Regions from separate parts of the Homo sapiens genome. Here region 2 is linked to region 1. The links are contacts of gene promoters, found by promoter capture Hi-C in human tissues and cell types (Jung and others, 2019). All regions are on one chromosome and are shown on one strand. Each heading gives the region's core, a stretch centred on a gene start or on the middle of the fragment in contact. The rest is flanking DNA. Distances are from core to core; before and after follow the strand shown. Region 1 holds the start of RFPL3S (RFPL3 antisense). Region 2 overlaps FBXO7 (F-box protein 7).

What was found. Contacts are between HindIII fragments. The study calls those that stand out against the background at their distance.
Region 2: a fragment that was not itself captured here is called in contact with the fragment with the promoter of RFPL3S in region 1 in 2 of the 25 tissues and cell types used here (IMR-90 fibroblasts and lymphoblastoid cells).

Annotation. Positions count from the first base shown.
Region 1 is chr22:32,368,194-32,375,220 of GRCh38, forward strand. It overlaps RFPL3S (RFPL3 antisense), which reads right to left and starts at 3,071. Exons shown (of 5, transcript NR_104232.1): 1 at 3,005-3,071; 2 at 2,706-2,748; 3 at 304-374. The HindIII fragment of the contact is 22,540 bases long and covers 1-7,027 here.
Region 2 is chr22:32,481,775-32,488,562 of GRCh38, forward strand. FBXO7 (F-box protein 7) reads left to right here. Exons shown (of 9, transcript NM_012179.4): 3 at 2,123-2,350; 4 at 3,294-3,435; 5 at 5,971-6,054. Among named protein-coding and RNA genes, the nearest start is that of FBXO7, 10 kb to the left of the region's middle. RefSeq lists an enhancer at 3,735-3,904. The HindIII fragment of the contact is 5,819 bases long and covers 1-4,791 here.

The DNA.
Region 1 (7,027 bases), core at 1,821-4,320:
AAAAAAAAAAAAAAATCTTTGTCAAGACCATTTTGAAGTAGCAGTTACAAAATACTTAATCTAAAGTGGAAAGCTTGTTGCAGAGGAAAGTGTCCCCTAACATGCTGTGTGTGACCCAGCCCTGCCAATTCCAGATGTCCTCTTCAATCAGGTGTCAGTGGGTGGGGTGCACCCCTCCATCCCCAAGGAAACATCATCTAACACCTATAACGCACCTGATCATTTTTCTCTATCTGATATCAATTGAAAAATGAAATAACCAAGAAAATTACACACATGTTAGGCAAAGACAGGCTACTTTACCTTGGTAACAGAGAAGGGGTCCTCACTTGCCCACTCTTTGGAATCCACCTTCCATTGATCTTCTGGGGGAACTGAAAGGACACAACATGACTGTCAGTTCATTGGTGGTGACATGAACAAAGGGCTAGAACTTATGGATGTGGTTGGTTAACAAGCATGAATTGAGCTTCTCCTGGGCCATCCTCTTCTATGGACCAAGGAAGGCAGAGAGACGGGCAGAAAGGAAATGAGAAATAGAGCCTTTGTCTTTCCAGGTAATAGCAGATGAAAGCGACACGAAATACTCAAACTTCAAATGAGCAACTACTAAAATGCATGCTAGAATTCAACCACAGAGTCCTGTCACTCCCTCAGCCCATTTTAAAGTCCAGCAGAACTGCCACTGACTCCTTGATATTGACCAACTCCCTTTCAACCTCCACAGACCCCCATCTGCTGCTGTAACATTTAACATCTGGGGTATAGGATTCAGCCCCTGTTTATGTGTAAATTTTTATTGAGGAACTAAATTCAATATCAGGTACCAGGGCTAATTATATTTACTCAATTCTTTGTTATAAATCAATTATTAAAAACTGGAAAATACTGAAATACATGTTAAAATATCCACTGTAAATCAAAGATCTTCCTTTTAGTCTTCCCTTCCTATCCCTTGTGTTTGCAATCATTGCATGAGGGGGCCTAGTTTCAGCCAGGTCTAGTTCACCTAGCCATATGAGGTCTAGTTTCAGCCCAAGCTACCCACAGTGAAGGAAGGCAGAGTGAGGAGATGACCCCATGTGAGCACCGAGGCTCTTTAACCCAGCTGTACAGGAGAGTTGCCACAAGGGTGACACCTGAGGCTAATTGTGAAGTGGTATCCTGTGTTCTGTGATTCTTGTGCCTTAGCCACCTGAGTAGCTGGAATTACAGGTGTGCACCACCACGCCCAGCTAATTTTGCATTTTTAGTAGAGATGGGGTTTCTCCATGTTGGTCAGGCTGGTCTTGAACTCCTGACCTCAGGTGATCTGCCTGCCTCGGCCTCCCAAAGTGCTGGGATTACAGGCATGAGCCACCGCGCCCAGCTGCCTTATTTATTCTTAACACATGTAAGTGCCTCTAACTTTCGATTGTTTCCAAGTCATGGAACGAACAACCTCCTTAGAAAGAACTCTGAAGGATAGGTCAGGAGAACTAAGTCACACAATCCATCAGAAACAGTATTAACAGTTTTTCAAAGTTACACTTTATATGCAAACTTGTACAATTATCATCTTATTATTTTTAAATGTATCTTTACATATATGTATGTGACCTACGTGTTTCCTGGTGTGAGTAAATCTGTATGTTCTTGGTTAATAGTGTTTACCGATTCATTTCACTTCTCTATCTTTGTATGTTGAAATATGAACTACTCTCTGGATGAGAAAAAATGATTACACTTGATTATATTTACCTTTGGAAAGGTAAGTGGTTTGGGTGATTGACTATAATTGTTATCTCTATCATTTTGGATAAACCCCAATCATAAAAATAAGTGTGTTTTGTTTCACACACTGACACATAGACAATACACATTCTTACTTCTTTTCAAAAAGTTAATATGTGAATATAAATGACATATTCCAAATTTACTAAACTGAATACACATTTCATGAAAAAGGAGAGAGGAAAGACATACTAAAAACAGGCCAGGGCCTGGTGTGGTGGCTCACGCCTGTAACACCACCACTTTGGGAGGCCGAGGCAGGTGGATCACCTGAGGTCAGGAGTTCAAGACCAGCCTGGCCAACATGGTAAAACCTTGTCTCTACAAAAATACAAAAATTAGCCGGGCATGATGGTGGGTGCCTGAAATCCCAGCTATTCGGGAGGCTGAGGCGAGAGAATCATTTGAACCCGGGAGGCGGAGGTTGTAGTGAGCCGAGATCGCACCGTTGCACTCCAGCCTGGGCGACAGAGTGAGACTCCATCTCAAAAACAAACAAACAAACAAAAAAACAACAACAAAAGACAAAGATGGACACACTTCGTTGTGTTAAAAGCCTCAAAGACATCTGCATCATTCTAGCTTTGCTCCTAATTTTTAAAATTAATGATTTTAATAGGTTCTTAATTAGGTAAAAACTGCATTAAAACATACTTTGCCATATTTTTCCCAGAAGGATACCTAATTGGGTGGTTTGAGGGGTGCCAGATGTAACAGGAAATAAGACATGTCTTTTAAATAAAGGAAAAGCTCAAAGGCATCCTGCTTGATACTAGAATCAAATATATAAATTGAGGAATAAAACATAACCGGGAAACACATTTATAACTGCATATGAAAAATACAGAGGAGAATTTTTTAATAAAATATATTTTTAAATATTAACTAGTACATTTGAGAGGACAGCATTCAACAGGCCAATGTGAACATACCTTTAATGCAGGAACTCAGGTTCCCCATAAGAAAGACCAGAATCTGTGAAAATGACAGCAAGCATGTTCAACCTGCTATGAACTTTGAAAAACTCAGCACAGACAGTGGCAGTTAGGACCGAGGGCAAGATATACCCAATCACATAACCATGGTGATAGGAGCATCATCAACGTCTCAGGGTAAAGTCACAATGTGTATTGTGAGGTCCGCTTTCTGCTGCACCAACAAGAGTGCTTTCACACGCACAGGAGGGTCATTAAAGATTAGGCCTTTTACGGCAGGGAGTGGTGGCTCACACCTGTAATCCCAGCACTTTGGGAGGCCGAGGTGGGTGGATCACGAGGTCAGGAGATAGAGACCATCCTGGCTAACATGGTGAAACCCCGTCTGTACTAAAAACACAAAAAATTAGCCGGGCGTGGTGGCGGGAGCCCCCAGCTACTCGGGAGGCTGACGCAGGAGAATGGCGTGAACCCGGGAGGCGGAGCTTGCAGTGAGCCGACATAGCGCCACTGCACTCCAGCCTGGGCGACAGAGCGAGACTCCGTAAAAAAATAAAATAAAATAAAATAAAATAAAAGATTAGGCGTTTTACTTAAAAAAAAAACAACAAAACCCAAGCTCATTAATTACTATTCTGTGCTTATTAAAATAAGTTTTAGGAGGAGAAATTGTGTACCCCAAAATACACTCAATGGCAAGAATTTCAAACTGAGCAGGGGCAAAACCGATATGTTAGTAACAACCAGAAGTTCCATTCTCGATTCGAAATTCCATTGCCAAATATTTCTACCATTCCTGAGTCATCTAATATTTCTAGAACCAATAAGCAAACTGTTCAGAATTAAAGACAGCATAAATGGATATTGTTATAAAAGTCATGTTTCTTAAAAAGTGACATTTTTTAAAGTCACATTTTAAAAGTCATATTTCCCTAAAAAGTCATATTTCTACCATTCCTGAGTGATCTAATGTTTCTAGAAGCAATAAACTGTTCAGAATTAGAAAAAAGTGTTACTTGATATTATAAAAATCATATTTCTCTCACAATATAATTATGAAACTTATTTTTCCACTTATCTCTATATATTACTATGCACTTATTTATCTCCCAAACTTTGTGAATTCACAGAGGAATTTGTCTACCATTGTGTATGTAAACGGCTGGCCATTCACTGAGTATTTAAAGGAAAAAAAAATCACTATATTTTCACCAGTGCATCTTCTCGGTGGGGTGAACACTTTGGGTGAATACATATAATTTTTTATTTGAGACAGGGTCTCACTCTGTCACTCAGGCTGGAGTGCAGTGGCTTGATCATGGCTCACTGCAGCCTTGACCTCCCAGGCTCAGGTGATCCTCCCAACTCAGCCTCCCATGTAGCTGGGACTACAGGTTCTTGCCGCCATGCTCAGCTAATATTTTGTAGAGATGGGGTTTTTCCATGGTGCCCAGGCTGGTCTTCAACTCTTGGATTCAAGCAATCCACCCACCTCGACCTCCCAAAGTATTGGGATTAGAGGCGTGAACCACCATGCCCAGCCTAATACATATAATTAAAGTGTTTCTGAATGCAGAATTTTAGATAACTTTCAAAATGTATAACTACGTGTGTATTCTGGCTGATACATAACACCCAATTGCAAATACTTTTATGATATGCCCAAGAAAACAAGCTGTTGAAAGTGACCTGCCCTAAAATAAATAGAACAAATGAAAATTTTAGGGTTAAGATGAGAGAGTTGCTATGTTTCAAAGAGAATAGGTACCCTTCATGATATAAATATTACAGTACAAATGTCTATCATTGCTAAGTACAAATTTCTAGAACAAATAAATAGGTCACAAATGATGTATACAATCTGCATTAATATAGATGATGCTATATTTTGTCCAGTGATTATAAAACAGAGGGTGTAATGGGGTAGGTGCTGAAAGAATAGGTCATTCTGTGTTGTTATAAACAGAAAATTTCAATGGCTTCCAGATTGAACAAATATATGTATATACACAAATTATACACACACACACACGATACTATAGTTATATGTGTATGTGTTTGTATACTCAGAAATGCAGCAAACTAAAAAAAAACTTTAACAATCCCCACAGATTCATGCTTCTGAATGCTCAAATGGAGGAGAAAATTTAAAAAGAAGTGGAAAATATAGTGAGAAAATCTACTCATCCTATTGGAGGAGCTGATATCTATTTTAAGTTTAGAGAGGCAGGCTTAAATAAGTAAATGTTTAGGATTTGAAATTTAATTGTACAAGTATTTTTTTCGTTGAATTTCCTCCCAACTTTGTAAAATCATCAGATCAAAAACACATCATTTGATTAGGGTGCAGTTTTATAGTACCTAACAATCAAGATTTTGGAAAAAAAAAAAAAAGTTGATGATGGTGAATTTTGATAAATTCTAACATTGTCCTAGTTGAAAGAGGTAAATATGTTTTTATATGTGCTAAGAATTGTCTAATTTAAGAGTACAATGATGTTGTTATGACTGTTGATAAATTTCAATCGTTTTTGAAATTATAACTAAAAGAATGTTTTTATTTGGCTATTATTCCAGTTGATTTCAACAATGCTAAGTGAAATACATGTATCAGAACAAAATCATGATGATGTCACAAATGTTAACTATCTAATAGCTACTGTAGGTCAGACTTTTTTTTAATTTGAGTCTAATTTGTTTCTTCCATCTTAAAACTCTCTAACATGAATTAAAGGGCTAAAAAGATGTACTGATTAGACATTTTTGATTAAAGGTTTGGTAAACTAAACAGTACTTTCATCTAGCATTAGGAATATTGAAAGCAAGAAAATGGATTATTTAGTAACTATGTAAAATGCATTAGTATTAGAGTTGCATTACTTAGTATTGTGGTTGTCATCTAGCTTTTTTTTTTTTTTTTTTTAAACGGAGTCTTGCTCTGTCGCCCAGGCTGGAGCGCAGTGACGCGATCTCAGCTCACTGCAACCTCTGCCTCCCGGGTTCACGCCATTCTTCTGCCTCAGCCTCCCGAGTAGCTGGGACTACAGGCGCCCGCCACCACGCCCGGCTAATTTTTTGTATTTTTAGTAGAGACGGGTTTTCACCGTGTTAGCCAGGAAGAAATGTTAGTGTAGAAAGGTAATATATTCCAAAAGAATCTGTTTTTCTTAATGAAGAGTATCCACACAGACACTCATAGCAAAAAAAATTATAAGATGCATCAGAGATAAATAAAATAAAGTGTAGTCTTCCTAGAGCTGGATTTAGTTTCTGGTTTGATTTATTTTAACGACAGACATAAGAGATCACTTCGTAATGAAGTACAATTTCACACTATAGAAACAGAGTAAAAATATCTTTTTGAAGAAAATGCCAAATCTACCTTTAATCTCAAGGAAATAGGATCGCTCAAATAGATCTGTTAGCATGTTACATATTAATAGACAACCTGCTGTGTAAATTACTTAAAAGCCATCTTTTGCAAAAATTTTCTCCCATTCTGTAGGTTGCCTGTTCACTCTGATTATCGTTTCCTTTGCTGTGCAGAAGCTCTTTAGTTTAATTAGATCCCATTTGTCAATTTTGGCTTTTGTTGCCATTGCTTTTGGTGTTTTACTCATGAAGTCTTTGGCCATGCCTACGTCCTGAATGGTATTGAGTTCATGTCCTTTGCAGGGACATGGATGAAGCTGGAAACCATCATTCTTAGAAAACTAACACAGAAACAGAAAACCAAACACCACATGTTCTCACTCATAAGTGGGAGTTGAACAATGAGAACACATGGACACAGGGAGGGGAACATCACACACTGGGGCCTGACGGGGGTTGGGGGCTAGGGGAGGGATAACATTAAGAGAAATACCTAATGTAGATGATGGGTTGATGGGTGCAGCAAACCACCATGGCACGTGTATACCTATGTAACAAACCTGCACGTTCTGCACATGTATCCCAGAACTTAAAGTATAATAAAAAAATAAATAAAAATTTAAAAAATGGTTAAAAAGCCATATTTTAAAAGGTTTTTAAAATTCACAACATACTCCATTTTTGATATAACTTCTAATATTTCTTCTCTGTGGTAGAAATTTGTTCCTGAGAAATAAGAGGCCAAGGATATTACAAGAGCACAAAAAGTTTACATAAATGTGTTAACATTTTAAAGGCAACTATATATGAATAACATTAAAACATTGTTAAAAATTTATTAGAATGAATAATAAAATCATCAAGTTTATACTTAATAAGATCAAATATATTGCTTATATAATTTTAAAAGTAGTGCAGAATGTTTATTATTCTAGTCTCACTAAAAA
Region 2 (6,788 bases), core at 632-3,131, 110 kb after region 1:
CAGGTATCAGAACCTAATATTAGCTCTCATGCATCTTAGTCACTTGTTTTAGTCTTTTGTAAATGACATATGGCAAAATGATCTGTTTAGAGAGGTGTGGTGCTCACCTTTTTTTTTTCATTTTTACACATGTGAAGAATTTGATAAATATTCATATCAGAATAGCTCAGAGAATGTCAGTGGTTCTTATGGAGTAGTAGTAAGGCTTGACAAGCCCAGCAGGGGATTTTGATATCTCCCTCTCATGTACTCAGCCTAGGGTACCCTTTTTCATTTTTCCTCATATATTCTGTCCCACACAACTGCCAATAAGTAGTAAATGGCCAAAAGTTAGACATAGTGGTAAAGAAGCAAAACCTATGTTTCATAGTTTAGCTTGATGTTAAGTGGTTTTTAATGTAGTTGTTTCTGTTTTCTTAGGAAATATGGAAATATTTTTGTGCCATACCTCCTTTTTGGGTAATGTGACTTGTCATTGGCCTTTAGGTTTTAACAGGTGACTTTGGATCTTTTCCATAAGCCCTAGGGCTTAGGTCCTCAGAGATTTTGGAAGAACAGCTGTCACCTCCGGCTCCCCTCCATTTCTCCAACCTTTTACATATACTGTGTAATTTTAATTTCCTTTGCCCCTTCTTTAAACAAACCCTAAAAAGACGAAACGTATGCTTTGCATTAAGAGTTGGGCATATGCCTAGGAAACAAGCTTTCTGAGCAAACTTAATATAGGTAACTTAGTTTTTTTTGAAGCCATGTATTACATCTCAAAGCCCTGAACTGCAAGTTTAGAGATCTGGGTTCGTTTCAAATTTTTATTAGCTGGTAACCTTGATTATGTTATTTAATCTTTCTGATTTATAATTATAGGATCTATAAAAAGGCGATACCTGCCATGCCTATTTTATAGGATTGTTATAAAGTGCAAATAAGAAAACATTTTGAAAATAAAGACATTATGAAGTTGTAAGGTATTATCCTTCAGCATTTGTTCAGCAAACATTGAATACCTGCTATGTGCTAGGTACTTTACTGGGGTTACAAAAATGGGTGACATGTAGTCTGGTTTTTTATAAACTTGCAGTCATGGAAGGATGCAGATATGTAATCAGAAAATTGCAATACAGTGCAGTGTGATAAGGTGCAGTAATCAAGCCCGTTGCAAGGCAGAGTTGTGGTCTGTGTTACCTCTTTTGAAGAAGTGGAAAATACTGGGATGAGTAAGAAGGCACTGGCAGAAAGTGAACTTGATAATGAGTCAGAGATCAGGTAATGAAGGACTTTGTATGCTAAGGGATTTAGAAGTTTGGTCTTCATTTGTAGACCTGCATTTCTCAGTGTCCTCTGAAAATCTAGTTTCATGAGATGGTGTCACAGGGATGTTGACTGCTGAGGACGGAGGATAGTGTTTTTTGGTAAAGTGTTAGGCACACACTATTATTGTTATTAGACTCCTCAGTGCTTATATAATGCGAATAGTGTATTTTGTGAATATGGAGGGTGAAGTTAGGTGGCTGCAGCATGCAGTATTTTCCACACTTATTCCGTGTGCACCACCTTTTTTCCTAAGAACATCTAAGGCACAATTGAGGGAAATGCTGTTTATGTTGGGGAGGTACTGGTGAATTTTAAGCTGCGACATAGTACATGATCAGATTTTTAATTGTCAAGAAAATTCTGGCAGCAGGGACTGGGGTGTATTGGAAGACAAGAAAGTTGAAGAAGGGATACTTGCAACGGAAGCTCTTGCTGGATGTCGGGAAATAAATGATGAGAGTTTGAAGTGCCAATAGAGCAGGAAGGGGCAAATTTTAGACATATTTAGGAGTTAGTTTCAGGGAACTTTGAAGACTGATCAGATGTGGAACAAGGTTTAGTTAGGGAGGGAGGAGTCTAGGATGATTTCCAGGTTCTTGACATACCAGCTAGAATTAACAGAGGTAAGGAATTCAGGATGGAAGAGTAGGTCGCAGGCTTATTTATTTGTAAGGACTCACTTAAAATGTCTCCCATTTCTGAACCCAATGATGTACTTTGACTTTCAGCACTTAGTTCACTTTAGGATACAAAAATGTATAGTGTAAAAATAAGTCTTTAATTAATTCATTGTTTTGTTTTCCTTTTTCAGTTAGGGCCTAGTCAAAATTTTGAAGCTGAGTCAATTCAAGATAATGCGCATATGGCAGAGGGCACAGGTTTCTATCCCTCAGAACCCATGCTCTGTAGTGAATCGGTGGAAGGGCAAGTGCCACATTCATTAGAGACCTTGTATCAATCAGCTGACTGTTCTGATGCCAATGATGCCTTGATAGTGTTGATACATCTTCTCATGTTGGAGTCAGGTTACATACCTCAGGTAAGTACTGCAAGCAAAACACAGACATCTTATGATTGCTCATACATGTGGATGGTTCCTGCTCTCAAGTTGCCCGTAGTCTGAGAGTGGCAGAGAGAGACAAAAATATAAAGCACTGTGCTATATTGGTGAAGTTCTGGGAGAAACATACTCATATATAGGATGCCAGGAATTCATGGAGGAGAACATTTAGAATATTGCTTCTCAAACTTTAATGCGCTTTGGAATACCTGGGGACCTTATTAAAATGCAGATTCTGATTTAGTAACTGTAGAATGGACCGTGAACTTCTTCATACTCCTGCATAATACCAATGTTGCTGGTCTGTGAGCCATGTTATAAGTTACAAAGATACAGAGTAGTTCGGTGATCAGTGCACACCTGCAGCATGCCATGCACTGACCTAGAAATTAGGATATAAAAATATTGGGATATTTCTTGTCTTCAAGGAGTCCATACATAGAGGAGAGAGATGAATAAAAAGATACTCAGAAATAACACAGGTAAACATAGATAATAATACAATTGAAGTGTAATGGAAATATGAATAGAATGCTAGGGGATGAAAGGAAATGGCAAACAATTTTTCTTTGAAAAAGGCTTTACGGAGGAAGTGATATTTGAGCCGGAGTTTTAAATAATCATATGGCTTTGCTAGGAGAGAAGTGAGTCTTTGAAGAGAGAGATCAATCCCTGTTTCCATGATGCAGTTTTACCTATTTGAACAAAAATTTTGATTAAAAGTGTTCTAATATATTATCTTATACAATATGGTTATCCTACAATATAAAATATATTGGCAATGTTAATGATTTGATGCATTTTATTAAGAGGACTGTGTGGAGTGATTATTTCAAACAAGTTAGGAGTCTTTTGGATTTTTAATCTTTTTGAGAGTAACACCTTTCTTCATTATTTGTTTCCCTTTCATTTCGTTCCCCAGGGCACCGAAGCCAAAGCACTGTCCATGCCGGAGAAGTGGAAGTTGAGCGGGGTGTATAAGCTGCAGTACATGCATCCTCTCTGCGAGGGCAGCTCCGCTACTCTCACCTGTGTGCCTTTGGGAAACCTGATTGTTGTAAATGGTAATTGGATAGCATAGTCATGGTTGCTGGTTTATGGATTCTTAGACGTTTCTTTCCAAATGTTTTATAGCCACTTCAGTGATTGGCTATCATGATACAGTTGTGAGTCCTTCTCAACTGTATTTAATTCCTAGGCCACTGATAACATGTGTCTGGAAGATCATGGAATATGAGGTTGTTGAGTTGTTTAGGCCAGCACCCTTCATTCTTAGGGCATCCATTTTTTTGATGTCTTAATCTTTGTAATATTTTGCTCTGGGGGATAATATTTAATATTATCCAATATTATCAGTATTTGATAATAGGAGTGAAATGAGCCTATTACACATGAACTCCTTGGAGAATACTTTTTCTTTATGCCTGTGGATGGCTTTATTTTTTTAACGAAGGTCTTGAACTGAGACATGGGGAGCTAGACCTGGGGTCACCATTTATCCAAGTTGGCATCCCTGTGACCAGCAATGCACAACAACAATGCTAAGTTTACTGGGGCCTTAGTAAGTATGTGTTTTATTTGCTGGGCCTCCCCCAACAAATGTCACTCTGTATGAATAACTTTTCCTGTTTATTTTTCATATTAAGAAATTTCACTGGAATAGCAATGCATTCCATCTCTGTGTTTTAGTTCAGGTACCACTTTGTTTCATATCAACTCCTAGTGTTCTGTCATAATCACACATACTGGAGATCCATTTGAATGACTAGGAGCTTTCATTTTTGTTCTGTTTTGTTTTTTGAGATTTATCCTTTTAGTTAGAAAGATAGCGTGGTAAGATTGGGAGGGCTGCGTTTGTTGTTTTTTTATTCAGTATAGCTCATCTTTTTCGTTTAGCAAAGGCAGTTGCTTTGGTAAGCCTTAGGTCAAAGGTTTAGGTCAGAGGTTTTCAGTATGTTCTGTAGCTACTCCTTTCTGCTGAGATGAAAGTTAGGTAGAAGCCCTATCACCACTTAAACCTTGAGCAGCAAAATGTTTATCTGTTTCATTTATTGAAGTTCTGTGTAAGATTCTGTTTGAAAAAATGTTGGTTTTTTTTTTTCCTGCTAAAATCTATTTTGAAAGCTACTGACTCATGCCATCTTGATCTTTGACATGTTGGATAGTTCTCATTCCCCTCTTACAAAGTTTCTTTTTTCTTTTTTTTGAGACAGGGTCTTGCTCTGTCGCCCAGGCTGGAGTGCAGTAGGCAGAGCATGGATCATTGCATCCTTGACCTCCTAGGCTCAAGCAGTCTTCCTCCTTGGCCTCCTGAGTAGCTAGGACCACAGGCGTGTACCACCACACCTGGCTATTTTTTATTTTATTTTTTGTAGAGATGAAGTGTCACTGTGTTGCCCAGGCTGGTCTCAAACTCCTGGGTTTGAAGCAATATTCCTGCCTTGACTTCCCAAAGTGCTGGGATTACAGGTGTGAACCATGCCTGGCCTCTTACGAAATTTCTATTTCTTTAGTCATAAGATTCTTTGAAATGTTATTTAAAAGTCTCAAAACTAGGTTTAATAGCTTTGGTGGTACTTCACATTTGTCAGGACATGACTGTCTGATGACACTAGGACCTAGCAATGTCTATTCAGCAGTTCATCATAATTAGCAAATGTAGCTTTTACTTTGGCATTCTTGTACACAGAGTGTCAACAGTTTCTGCCTTCATCTAATCATTCTGCTACATCACATCATAACTTGCAAGGTTGGAGTTACCAAATAGTAAATGTGTAGTTGCAAATTTTGCCTTGATTTTTTATAAAAGCACTTAATGACGTGTATAATAACCTCTATTCACTAGATTCAGGATACTTAATATAAAAAGAATAACTGCTGAATGTCTTGATGATTTCCTAATTTCTGATGTTTTGTTTCTTTACTGTTCTTGGCAAATCAGCTCTTGGCAGACTTGCATGGCAGCCAGCCGTTCCAGGATTGATTCTTTGAAAAGGAGCAGTGTGTCTTTAAATCTTTCCTTCACCCAAGGCATCCTGCTTGGTGCACATGTGCATAAGCACATCACTGGGCTCTTTCATGGAATGAGATGAAGTGCGCCTTTGTATACATGATTAAAATTGAACCCTCTGGTGATGTCAAGTATATTTATCCTTTGGGTCTGGAAGAGAGATGATGCTGTGAAAACTAGCAAGATTATTTTAATGAACAAAGGAAGACTCATTGCCAAGGGTTAAATAAAAAATAAATGGAGTTTTTAGTGACTTCATTAGAAATAATGATTTTATTGTGTTTAGTTGCCTCTGATTAACCTTGTTGCATATCTTTAAGTTACTAATAAGCTGCTGCCTAGTGGATTTTATATAAAGATGCTTACTGTAGTTTTTAAAGGTGGTGTTGTAGAGTGATTTTACTTCATGTGATGCCAGGTTTACACTTTTGAACTTGCTATCAGAGAAAGAAATAGGCGAAGAACAGTTTGTTTTGTATAATGTGTCCTTAGTATATTAGGAGCTAGGAAATGCAAGCCCATACTAAAAAAGAAAGGCAGTTGATGAAGTGACAGAATTCTTTATCATCTTTCTTTTGTTTATTTACAGCTACACTAAAAATCAACAATGAGATTAGAAGTGTGAAAAGATTGCAGCTGCTACCAGAATCTTTTATTTGCAAAGAGAAACTAGGTAATACAAACATTATTTAACTTTTGGGGTGAAACTCTGTGAAATTCATATAAGAAAAAAATCTGAAAGATAATGTTCAAAAGACTGAAAATTTCTATATGAGATTAAAGCATATTGAAGACAATGTGGTTTGTTTAAGAATGCAAAGGTTTAAAAAATGTGAAAGTTTTGCTTATAATTTGAGGAGTTTGTTTCTTTCCTGTTTTTCTTAGGGTCATAGTGTGCTGAATTATATTGTTATGAGATAACACTAGTATGTAATTTATTACACTCTGATGATAGTTCATAGTTTCTGTACTAATCTTTGGAGATCTCCCTATTGAGATCTCCATATTGGTATTTAACCAATATGGAGGGGATCTGTGTTTCATGAAAGTAATTCAATGTCAAGTTCATTATTGAAGATTATTGGAGGAAAAACTACAATCAAAATGTTTGTTTAAACCTATATAAATTTGATGGCTATTTTATACAGATTGATACTTTACCAAAGGTTTGCATTCTAGGTAAGGTTTTGCTTAAACTCTATAAAATTATTAATAGATACAAAGAAGACAGGTTTTCCCTTTTATCATTTTTCAGTTAAACCAAACTGTGAGAGGCAGTTATAGGTGGTTGGAGCAGAAGAGATAAGGTGGAGAGGGGAACTGACATTTTTTAAGTGCCTGTTTCATTCTGTACTTGTGCCTGTACATATGTTATTCCATTTAATCTTCTTAGTAAACTTAGGAGGG